2 separate regions of the Homo sapiens genome follow, and region 1 is linked to region 2. Evidence: promoter capture Hi-C in 16 types of primary human blood cells and fetal thymus (Javierre and others, 2016). All regions are on one chromosome and are shown on one strand. The core of a region is centred on a gene start or on the middle of the fragment in contact, and the rest is flanking DNA. Distances in the headings are between cores, read along the strand shown. Region 1 overlaps WDTC1 (WD and tetratricopeptide repeats 1). Region 2 holds the start of IFI6 (interferon alpha inducible protein 6).

Region 1 (5,985 bases), core at 391-2,890, 360 kb after region 2:
ATTGAGCTGGGGAAAGAGGGTTATATGAAACTCATTATACTATCTGCTCAATTTTCTGTAAGCCTAAAACTGCTCTAGAAAGTAAAGGCTATTAATTTTTTAAAAAATGGAGTACCAACTCCAAATGAAATGGAGACCCTCGTGAAGTCTTCCAATGCCTCCCTTGCCTACAGGATTGAGTCTGTGGTCTCTCACCAGCCATAGGAAGTCCTTCAGTTTGACTGCTCCTCCAGTCTACCCTCTACAATCCAGCCAGATGGAGTCACTCAGGGTTCATGAAGGAACCTGAGACTCTGCACTACTCCCTGGTCTGGAACATTGTCCTTCCTTTGTCTGGTCTGGAAATGCCTTCAAGAAGCTTCTGCAGACGTTAATTTGGGTACACAGAGGAATGATACCAGCCCACAGTATCTGTTTTATAATACCACCTATTGTGTTTCCGGCAGGACCTCTCAGTAGTTTCAGTAGTGGAACTGCTATTCCCACAGACTAAACCATAGTTCCCCAACTGTGCATCAAGGTGCCTGAGGGCACCCACAGCAAATTCACAGGGGGCAAAGTAGGATATTTTGAAAGATATTCAACATCTTTGGCTAATGAGAGAACTATTAGCTCAAGGTAGTTCACAGTTCCATTATTACATTATGCCACAATCCTTTTGATGATGTCATCTTTAAGAAGCTGGGTCTTGGCCGGGCGCAGTGGCTCATGCCTGTAATCCCAGCACTTTGGGAGGCCGAGGCGGGTGGACCACAAGGTCAGGAGAGCGAGACCATCTTGGCTAACGTGGTGAAACCCCATCTCTACTAAAAACATAAAAAATAAGCCAGGTCTGGTGGCAGCTGCCTGTAGTCCCAGCTACTCAGGAGGCTGAGGCAGGAGAATGGCATGAACTCAGAAGGTGGAGCTTGCGGTGAGCCGAAATCGCACCACTGCACTCCAGCCTGGGCAACAGAGCAAGACTCCGCCTCAAAAAAAAAAAAAAAAAAAAAAAAGAAGCTGGGTCTTTAGTGGTTGCTGTGATAAAAAGCAAATGAAAATCAATGTGGGACAGGAAATGAAGGCAGCAGTGTTTGCTTTGATTAGAAAATTTAACAAGTTGTTCAGTGCCCAATGGGCAGCATAGATCCCATTAGTAATTGCAGTTGTTTAAGAATGAAGGCTGGGCGCGGTGGCTCACACCTGTAATCCCAGCACTTTGGGAGGTTGAGGCGGGCAGATCACCTGAGGTCAGGAGTTTGAGACCAGCCTGGCCAAGGTGGTGAAACCCCATCTCTGCTAAAAATACAAAAAATTAGCTGGGTGTGGTGGCGGGCACCTGTAATCCCAGCTACTTGGGAGGCTGAGGCAGGAGAATCGCTTGAACCCAGGAGGCGGAGGTTGCAGTGAGCCGCAATTGCACAATTGCACTCCAGCCTGGGCGACAAAAACGAAACTGTCTCAAAAAAAAAATAAAAAATAAAAAATAAATAAAAATGCAAAAAAAAAAAAATAGCTGGGCATGGTGGCACATGCCTGTAATCCCAGCTACTTGGGAGGCTGAGGTAGGAGAATCACTTGAACCCGGGAGGCGGTGGTTGCAGTGAGCTGAGATCATGCCACTGCACTCCAGCCTGGGCAACAGAGCAAGACTCCGTCTCAAAAAAAAAAAAAAAAAAAAAGAATGAAATAAATATTGTTTCTTCCAATTCAGGTGTATTATTTTTTAAATGGCAACTAACTTGTTAGGACATAAATACTTTTTAAGTGATTTGGACTTAACTACTTAATAAATTGAACTGTTATTTCTTTTGGCTTAGAGGCTCCATGAAAAAATTACTGAGATGGTAATGGTGCTGTGAGCTAAGAAAGTTCAGGAACCTATAGTCTAAGAGATTATCTAATCCAGGGCACTTCAAAAACTTGCATATGTGAAATCAATTTAGTGGGTTATAGCCATATTTTTTTCCCTAATAAAACAGAAGGGTAAGCAGAGTACACTGCATGTAGCAAGGGTAAATATTATTGTGTAAAACTTTTGTTCATTTTTTTTATATATATATACACACACACATATCTACAAGTAATCATGTGTATATTGGGTCACAATGTAAAATGGTTTGAAAAACCACTAAGATTCCAAGTCCCTTATTTTACTGATGAGAAAACAGCCAGAGAGTGAAAGCTGATGATTACAAATCACAGCCATGAGAGCTGGGCTCTGCACTCAGCCCTGCTGGGCTGGGTGGCCGCTGCTCACGGTGACCCTTCAAGGCAGGCCTCATTCTGTCCAGTAGAGGTGTGGTTACTAAGTCATAGAGCTACAGAGGTGAGGGACCAGGTGCCCTCACTTTGGTTCCAAGACCCATCTGCACCCCACAAATGCCACCAGCCACACCTAGAACAAAATGGTTTTAATCAATTGCGTCACCCTCACTCTCCTGGGAGCGGAGCAACAAAAAGGCTCGGCTCCTGCCCCCAGAGGACAGTAAGGCTTATGTGTCTCTCCACACTGCAGGGCCCAGGCTGGGCAGGCAGGGGGTGGGAAGCAGGACAGGGGGCAGGGAGGGAGGGTGGGAGGCAGGGAGGAAATGGCAGGTGGCTGGAACACAAGAAAGCAAAGGGGACCCAGCTGGTCCTTGGGCCCCAGGGCCCAGCCCCAATACTCCTGCTCTCCCTTCTCCCTGGCTAGAGAAAGGTCACGGAGAAGAGACAGGGGAGCAGGTCCCAGCAGCAGGAGAAGCAGCAGCAGCTGTTTCCTTCACCAATAAATATACTTCATTACCAAGCTAGAAGAGAGGGGTGGGAAGAGGGACTGGGGTGGGAAGGAAGGGGGAGAAGCTGCCACCTGTGTTGCTGGGATTAAAGCAATGAGATGGTGCCAGACCCCCCACCACTATCCTCACCCTCCACTTGTCTTCTTAAAACTGTGAAAAAGCTTTTAACATGGCCCTCCTGTCTCCAGGGCTGCTCTGAAGCCTGACTGAGAGGAGGCACCTGGCAGAGACAGGGGCTGAGGGAGGGAGCGAGGGAGTGGAGGGAGAGGAGAAGGGAGGCTGCTTTTCCCCAGGGGCTGCAGCTGGAGGGCTGGAGCCAAGTAAGCACTGAAGGGGAAGCAGGGAGGGAGAGAGGGGGAAGGATGAACCAACTACCTGGAGCAGCTGGAGCTAAGAGCCGGGGGCAGAGGGGAGGAGAGGCCTGGTGAGTGGTGGGTTGATCGCTGCATCCAGTGTAAAGCTTGGGGCTGCTGGGGAGGGAGGGGCCGAGTAAGGGACTTTCCCATCTGAGTGGCTCAGGAGACCCACCCCTCTCCCCTCAGAGCAGCAGGGGACAGAGAAAAGCCATCACTTCTTTGGTCTTTGTGGCGGCTCAGCATGTGGGATGGGAAGGAGGGCAGAAAGGGCAGAGAAGGGCCCTTAGCAGGAAGCGCCACCTCAGCAGAGTAGGCCTGGCTGGGAGCTCTGGCAGAAAGGTCACAGTGAGGCTGAGGAGCGCCCAAGAGGAGAATGGCCGTAGTGCAGAAGTGCTGGCATGGATGGGTGGGGTAAGGTGCAGTGCCCCACCCTCTGCCAGGGCCCTTGGGAAAGGCAGAGCCTCCAGAGGTGGCCAGTGAGAGTAGGTGCAGGGCCAGAGCTAGTAGCCAGGAGAGGAGCGAGGGTGCTCCACAGCGACCTCAGCAGGTGGCCTGGTCTTGCCCACTCCAGGGCTCCCATCCTTCCTTTGGGCTCCGCTCTAACACTGGTGGCTCTGGAGGGAGGGTGGGACCCATCCTTTTTCAAAACCTTTCCTGAAGACCACAGGGGAGCTAGCCTTGCAGGCTAGGGAGCAAGAGTGGCAACAGGCCAAGGCGAGCCCTTACCAATTGGGAATCCCACTCCTCCTGCTGCTGCCAGCTAAAGGGCAGGACAGTCCCTGAAGACAGTTCAGCTTGTTCCTCCCCACCTGAGGCAGAAGGGGTTTTGAGGCAGGCCAGAGCCCTCCAGGGACATGAAAGCAGGAGATGGGGGGGGGCATATGGAGGGGTGTCCCCTCCTGCTCTTTTTTTCAGGGCTGGGGATAGTCAGGGGACAATCAGCCCAGAGTCCGAAAGCCAGCAAGTTGTAGCAACCTCCACCCCTAACGCCAAACTAACAAACAAAACAGGGGAAATGAAAAAAAAGGGTGGTGGGGAAGACAAACCAAAACAGAATCCCCTGACCTCCTGCCCAGGGCAGAGGGTCCAGCCAGTAGCAGGGGCTGGGGACCAGGGCTGGAGGGTCTAGCTGGGCCGGCACTGCACCTGGCCCTCAGAGCTGTCCTCATCATCAGAGGCCCCGGCACCCCCACTGCTCAGGCCCGTGATCCGGTAGCCCATGTTGAGCAGCATCACCTCCAACGGGTCTGCATTCATGCGCCGCTGGTTGGCCTGTGAAGCACCCTCCATATCTTCCACGACTCGGCCTGTGAGGTCTTCACTCTGTGGTGGAGAAAGGGGTGACACACGTGGGGCTCAGGGAGGGAGAGGCACCAGGGTACACGTATAGGGGAGGGGGAGGGAAATACACAGACTAAACTATCTATAGGGGGAGGTACACATACATGCCAGGAGGTGTATATGGTGGAGGGGAACACACAACCTTGGCTACATATTGTTGGGGGTGCTCACGCTGGAATATATATGGGAGATACGCCACCTCAGGATATACAGGCAGGTCATAACATGCTGGGATATACGTGGGGGACAGTACACACCAGGATATGTTGGACACACATACTGGGATACCTGGGACAAGGGGCAGATACAACTTCCCCACCCCATTCTGTTTTGTTGCCACAACTCTTGCTTCATCTTTCTTTCTCCTCTCCTCTCAATGGGGAAGCCTATAGGGGTCCTCTCTTTAAAAGTCACAGCAAATTATCTTGGGAATCAGACATACCACTTGACTTTTGTTTTGCCAGCTGGGAAGAGGGAAGCAGTAGGGCAGAGGGGAAGGGGAGGCACCAAGCCAGCTTCCCTGGCTACCCACCCTGGGAGTGGAGGGGACTCCACTGTCCTAAGTGTCCTTGTGGGCTGGACACTTCACAGGCATCTCTTCTTTACTTCTCACCACAACCTTTCAAGGTGGTGCTGTCATTCCCATTCCCAATGTACAGATGATTAAAAGCCTGGGTCAGAGATGGTGAAGTCTCTCAGGCAGCGAGTGAGGAGACTGGATTCAAACTTAGGCCTACCAGATGCCAAAGCCTGCATAGTTCCCTTGTGACCAGGGCCTCTGCACAGCTTCTGGAGAATTGCTGCTGCATTTGGAGCTTCTGGAATCTGAGAACACAGCCTTGGGCCCCGGGGTAAGGCTTACTTAGCAGCTTCTAGCCTCTGGGTGGCTCATTTCTCTTCCCTGCGCTAGCAGGCTCCACTGGAGCCTTCCACAGAGTCCCTGCCCTCCTCTCTGCTTGGCTCTGCACCCTCACCTCTGGTCGGGGGTTCCAGAGCCGCACAACAGGATCGATGCCACTGGTGGCCAGGAAGCAGTAGCTGGGGTGTGGCTGCAGGCAGTTGACAATGGACTCATCCCCTTGGAGCACACGGACCAGGTTGGTGGTCTCCTTTTCCCAGATGAAGAAGGAGCCATCGTCAGAGCCACTGACGATATACTGAGCGTTGCTGGCGGGGGGGCAAAGGGCAGGGAGGTCAGGTGGGGTACTGCCCTACAGCCTCAAGTAGAGGCTGCATGGCCTAGGTAAAGGGGGAGCAAGGAAGTCTGCAGCCACTCAGTCCCCCACACGCTGGGGTGTGCACTTGACCCAGAATTCCTCCAGGTATATAGCCCTGGTCACTGTTCTCTTAAACCTAGGGCCAGCGACTACCTGGATTTCTCCAAGACAGTCTCCCCTATAGTTCATTATTACCTCCTTGGGCCAGGATCATCTTACATCATCTCTCGGGTCTCCAAAATACCCTGTTTTAAGCCTCCCCTGAGCAGTTCCAGGCTTCTGGCATCCAGACTCCCCCTGCCCCTCACACACCAC
Region 2 (6,171 bases), core at 887-3,386:
TAAAAATTAGCTGGGTGTGGTGGCACATGCCTATAGTCCCAGATACTTGGGAGGGTGAGTTGGGAGGATTTCTTGAGCCTAGGAAGTCAAGGCTGCGGTAAGCTATGATTGTACCACTGCACTCCAGCCCCGGCAACAGAGTGAGACCCTGTCTCTAACAAACCAACCAACCAACCGACAAAACAACAAAGAGGCCAGGCACAGCAGCTCACACCTGTAATCTCAGCACTTTGGGAGGTAGAGGTGGGTGGATCACCTGAGGTCAGGAGTTCAAGACCAGCCTGGCCAACATGGCAAAACCCCATCTCTACTAAAAATACAAAAAACATTAGCCGGGCATGGTGGCGCGCACCTGTAATCCCAGCTACTTGGGAGGCTGAGGCAGGAGAATCGCTTGAACCCAGGAGGCAGAGGTTGCAGTAAACCAAGATCACACCACTGCACTCCAGCCTGGGGAACAGTGCAAGACTGTCTCAAAAACAAAAACAAAAACAACAAAAAACAAAGAACAAAACAAAACAAAAAATATATGATGGAAATGGTATATTCAAGGCTGAGCAAAGGGGTCTAAAAGGCTTGAGTAAATTAAATAAACAGGGAGCTCAGAGTCCTGTGGCGCCCAACTCTGTTTCTCTGGGTTTTCTCTTTGACCCATATATATGGCCTCATGGAGTGTTCCCAGCAACCAACAGATAATGGAGGAAAGGAGTCAAACTCAATTCACAGATAAGTCAGTATAATATTTTGGTATCAGCTGGAAACGGACCACTCTATTACAGCCCCATTTGGGGGTGGCACTGAATAATAGTGAATCCTCCCAGGGGGCAGAACTAGGAGCAGTATACCGTGTTGTTCCCTCTGTATGCAGAGAGAGAGAGAGAGAGATGGACTGAAGTACAGACATACACCAATTCCTAATAAGAGGCAAATGGCTTGGCTGGTTGGTCAAAGGCATGGATGGAACAAGATTGGAAGATTGGGAATAAGCAGGTGTGGGTTAGGGGCATAAGAATGAACTCTGAATGGGCATAAAGCACCTGGATCTCTATGTCTCATGTTAATGCTGACCAGAGATCATCTGCTGCAGAGGAGGCTCTACAGCCCAATGGCCAGGATGTCCCATCCTGTGGATGTCAGCCAGCCTCTAAACTTAGCCTCACTATTGCCTTGCAATAGACCTATGAGTGTCCAAGGTGGTAAGGATGGGGGTTAGAAATGAGTCCAACAACTTGGGCTCCCTCTCACCAAAACTGATCTGGCAATTGCCAAAATATAGCCAATCTGCCAGCAGCAGGTAGCAATATGGCAAAATTTCTCAATGAGAATAGCCAGCCATCTGGTGGCAGGTCAATTATTTCAGACCCCTTCCACTTGGGAGAAGGCAATGATTCATCCTTACTGGAATTTCTATGTTCTCCAAATAGAGGTTGCATTTCTGACCCATAGCACTTCAAGCATCACCATCCAAAGGCTTTAAAGAATGCTCAGTTCATTACCTAGGGCCAGGGGACCCATCTTGAAACTCAAGATCTATCATGATGGCCACATGAACACAGGCTTCACTGGTCTTACCATATGCCCATGACCCAGAAGCAGCCAGCCTGAGAGAACAATGGAACAAAGTGACTTAATTTCCAAAGTTCTGGGGGTTTATAAACAGCATATGGTATGTCACATGACTACTGTGGGATTGGAAAAAGATCATGTAAATAGAGCACTTTGCACAGACCCTGGCATGCAGCAAGTGCTCAATAAATGATAGGTGTTGTTTACTAATTGGACTGAATGGTGAAAGGCCTGTGTGCCCCAGGGGGAGCTGGTGATCAGGCTTCACTAAGCCCAGTATGGCCGTGGCTCTCATCATAGTGTGACATGCTTTGAATACCCTTAGCGGCTCCAAAAGTCCTCAGCTTGAAGTGCATTTTTCTGCCAGCAGGCAGCACACAAATGTTCCCGCTGGGCGGAGCTGGGAGAGAGGGGAAAATGAAACTCTGCAGAGTGCAGGAGCTGGGAGAGAGGGGAAAATGAAACTGCAGAGTGCAGAAATAGAAACTCCGACAGGGATTGGCTGCCTAGGGTGAGACGTGGGAGGATCCACAAGTGATGATAAAAAGCCAGCCTTCAGCCGGAGAACCGTTTACTCGCTGCTGTGCCCATCTATCAGCAGGCTCCGGGCTGAAGATTGCTTCTCTTCTCTCCTCCAAGGTAAACTCAGGAGCTATGAAGTGTGGGCATCAAGCTGCCACCCTCTGCCAGGCTGCCTGTCTGCCTGTAAATCTCATGTTCTGAGAGCCAGGAGGCCCCTTCTCCTGGGAGGCAGCACTCCTGGGTCCCTTTTAGTGCTCTGGGCTGGGACTTGTCTAAGAGGATGGGTTGGAGATTTTTAGGGAGATGGGATGCAAAACCCCAAGTGGCATGAGACCCAGCTTACAGGTGCAATATCAGCGATCTGTGGCCTTAACACTGTCACCTCTTGGAGCCTTAATTACTTCCTCTGTAAAAGGAAAGTTAAGTTGCCTTTGCTGCTCAAAGGACTGGATGATTTTAGAATCCCCTTTATTATAGGATCCAATGTGACAGTGAGTTCATCTTTAAGGATAGATGAAGCCATCTGGAGTGGTTGTTAAAAATGTGGGCTTGGTGGCCGGGCGTGGTGGTTCACGCCTGTAATCCCAGCACTTTGGGAGGCCGAGACCCACGGATCACGAGGTCAGGAGATCGAGACCATCCTGGCTAACACAGTGAAACCCTGTCTCTACTAAAAATACAAAAAAAATTAGCCGGGCTTGGTGGTGGGCGCCTGTAGTCTCAGCTACTCGGGAGGCTGAGGCAGGCAGGAGAATGGCATGAACCTGGGAGGTGGAGCTTGCAGTGAGATGAGATTGCGCCACTGCACTCCAGCCTGGGCGACAGAGAAAGACTCCATCTCAAAAAAAAAAAAAAAAAAATGTGGGCTTGGGTATTAGCCAATTGTGGGTTTAAACCCTGACTTTGCCATGACCTGGCTAGGCAGCCTTGGGAATATTACTTAACCTCTCTGAGCTTCAGTTTCCTTATCTATAACATGTGGTTGATAACAATGGTACCTACTTCGTGGTGTTGTTATAGGTACAAGTGGACTGCGTGCCATAAAGTGCTAAGTACTCAATACATGAGAGGAGTTTCTTGTTTTTCTTTTTAACTTAAGAAAATAGCATTGATCTGACAAAGATCATATTAGAGGTGAGTCTGAGGGCATATGCATTTTCCAGTTTTGTGGTATAAAGGAAAGAGCATAGGTTCATGAATTCTGACTGTCTTGAATGTGTACCCATGTTGCACAATTTGCTGTGTGACCTTTATCCCTTGTGATATTGTAAAATATATTTTTTCATCCCCCAGTTCCTGGCATACAACTCCTAAAATCCTTGGAATCTTCAAAGTGATAAATATCTTTTGAGTGATAACTGTCTAATAAGTTGACTGATGGCTGGCATTTCCTCTGGGGAGGGGAGAGGGGCTGAAGGTTAAGCTGATTACCAATGGGCAGTGATTTAATCAGTCATGCCTATGTAATGAAGCCTCCATAAAAACACAAAAGGACAGGGTTTGACAAGCTTCCAGATAGCCGAATACAAGGAGGTCTCCAGTGGGTGGTGCTTCTGGAGAGGAATGGAAACTCCATGCCCTTTCTCCCATACCTTGCCCTATGCATCTCTTCATCCGGAGCATTTGTAATATCCATAAGGAACCAGTAAATGTAGCTGGGTATGGTGGCTGATGCCTGTAATCTCAGCACTTTGGGAGGCTGAGGCAGGCAGATTGCGTGAGTTCAGGAGTTCAAGATCAGCCTGGGCAACATGGTGAAACCCCATCTCAAAAAAAAAAAAAAAAATTAGTTGGGCGTGGTGGTGCATACCTGTAGTCCCAGCTATGCTGGAGGCTGAGGTGGGAGGATCACTTGAGCCTGGGAGGCGAAGGTCTCAGTGAGCTGAGATGGGGCCACTGCACTCCAGCCTGAGCAATAGAGTGAGACCCTGTCTCAAAACAACAACAAGATCAATTTTTTTTTTTTAAAGAAAGAAACCAGTATATGTAAGTAAAGTGTTTCCCTGAGTTCTGTGAGCTGCTCTAGCAAATTAGTAAAACTGCAGGAGGGAATTGTGGGAACCCCAGTTTATAGTCAGTCAGAAACACAGGTAAAACAACCTAGGGCTTTCGATTGGCAGTCTGGGGGACTGAACCCTCAACATGTGGGATCGGCCACTATCTACCCATAGTGGTGTCAGAATTGAATTTGGGGACCCTCAGCTGGTGTTCACCAGAGGACTGATTGTTTGCTTGCTGGTGGGGAGAAACCCCCACACTTCTGCTGTCAGAAGCCTCTCGTACGGTGAGGGAAACTGAGTTTCTTTTTCCACACACCCTTCTGTGCTTTCTTTCTGAAAAAAAAATTAAGTTGATGTGAGGCCAACGTTTGGTGCCAGTAGATATTCAATGCATTGTAAGAATGAGTTTGTCTTAAAAATTTTTTTAAAGCAAATTCTATGCGTCAGGCACTGTTCAAAGTGCCGGGGATACAGCGTGGAACAGTTATTAAATTAACAAGTACCCTCTGAAATAGACTCTATTAATACCCCAATTTTAGAAATAAACAAACTGAAGCCCAGAGAAGCAAAGTACCCTAGTATCCTGCCCAAGGTCACTTGGGTACAAGGCCAGGAACAACCACAGTCATGATATTGACATCTGCGGAGCTTACCACGTGCCAAACACCGTGCGAATCCGCACAGAATCCGCACACCCACCGGTTGGGGCAGGGACATCTCTGCCACTGATGCGGAGAGGAAACGGATTCCCGAGGCTCCTGAGAGGGATCCTGGGTTCCATTCACCACACCTCGCTGCTTTTTACTGATTCAGTTGGAACTGGAAGGGAAAACAACGGAGCTGATGAGCTCCAAAAATGCTCCGGGGACCATCTCCCTCTCGCCCGTTCGCAGGTCTAGTGACGGAGCCCGCGCGCGGCGCCACCATGCGGCAGAAGGCGGTATCGCTTTTCTTGTGCTACCTGCTGCTCTTCACTTGCAGTGGGGTGGAGGCAGGTGAGAATGCGGGTAAGGATGCAGGTAAGGGGACAGGTAAGGGTGCAGGTAAGGATGCAAGTAAGGGTGCAGGTAAGGATGCGGGTAAGGATGCAGGTAAAGATGCGGGTAAGGATGCAGGTAAGGATGCGGGTAAGGATGCAGGTAAGGGTGCAGGTAAGGATGCGGGTAAGGATGCAGGTAAGGATGCGGGTAAGGATGCAGGTAAGGATGCAGGTAAGGGTGCGGGTAAGGATGCGGGTAAGGATGCAGGTAAGGATGTGGGTAAGGATGCAGGTAAGGGTGCAGGTAAGGGAACAGATAAGGGTGCAGGTAAGGGGACAAGTAAGGAGGCATATAAGGGTGCTGGGGGATGGGAGGAGTGTGGGATAAAGGAGAGAGTTTCAGGGTCCGGGGTGTAGAGGGTCTGGCGTGCTTCTGTAGAGACCCTGGCGTCCATTCCAATGGACAGCGCAGGGTTGGTGTCGCCAGAGTCCCAGATTCAAATCCCACTACTCTGTTCATTCCTCCATCCTACCGAAATTTACTCGATGCTAGTTCTGTGCCAGGCTCGGCGCCTAGGGGAAAGTCCCTTCCCCTCTGTGAGGCTCTCTGAGTAGGAGAGTGGTGGCCCCCGCCTCCAGGAGTGGTCCTGAGCATCAGACACAGAGTAGGGGACCCCTGTGTCCCACCCCAACACCCCCACTACGCTTTGTCTGCTCTCCTGCAGGTAAGAAAAAGTGCTCGGAGAGCTCGGACAGCGGCTCCGGGTTCTGGAAGGCCCTGACCTTCATGGCCGTCGGAGGAGGTGGGTCTGGAGGGCGAGGATCTCGGGCAGGCGGGGCGGGCCTCTGCCGCGGACGCTCCCTCACCTGCTCCTGTTCCTCCAGGACTCGCAGTCGCCGGGCTGCCCGCGCTGGGCTTCACCGGCGCCGGCATCGCGGCCAACTCGGTGGCTGCCTCGCTGATGAGCTGGTCTGCGATCCTGAATGGGGGCGGCGTGCCCGCCGGGGGGCTAGTGGCCACGCTGCAGAGCCTCGGTGAGTGCGGGGCCTGGGCCCCTGGTGGGACGTTCTTTACTATTATTTTCATCATACATCTGGGGAAAC

Evidence for each region. The method cuts DNA at HindIII sites, captures the fragments that hold promoters and counts their contacts. A CHiCAGO score of 5 or more calls a contact.
Region 1: a fragment that was not itself captured here is called in contact with the fragment with the promoter of IFI6 in region 2 in 14 of 17 cell types (naive CD8 T cells, non-activated CD4 T cells, naive B cells and 11 more); the score reaches 10.7 in naive CD8 T cells.

What each region holds. Positions count from the first base shown.
Region 1 is chr1:27,304,636-27,310,620 of GRCh38, reverse strand. It overlaps WDTC1 (WD and tetratricopeptide repeats 1), which reads right to left. Exons shown (of 16, transcript NM_001276252.2): 15 at 5,428-5,620; 16 at 1,985-4,435. The coding sequence ends at 4,238. Among named protein-coding and RNA genes, the nearest start is that of TMEM222, 15 kb to the left of the region's middle. RefSeq lists enhancers at 1,789-2,313, 2,314-2,839, 2,840-3,365. The HindIII fragment of the contact is 2,559 bases long and covers 361-2,919 here.
Region 2 is chr1:27,668,157-27,674,327 of GRCh38, reverse strand. It overlaps IFI6 (interferon alpha inducible protein 6), which reads left to right and starts at 2,136. Exons shown (of 5, transcript NM_002038.4): 1 at 2,136-2,205; 2 at 4,982-5,083; 3 at 5,793-5,870; 4 at 5,953-6,102. The coding sequence starts at 5,014. RefSeq lists enhancers at 1,765-2,104, 4,883-4,942. The HindIII fragment of the contact is 12,379 bases long and covers 1-3,598 here.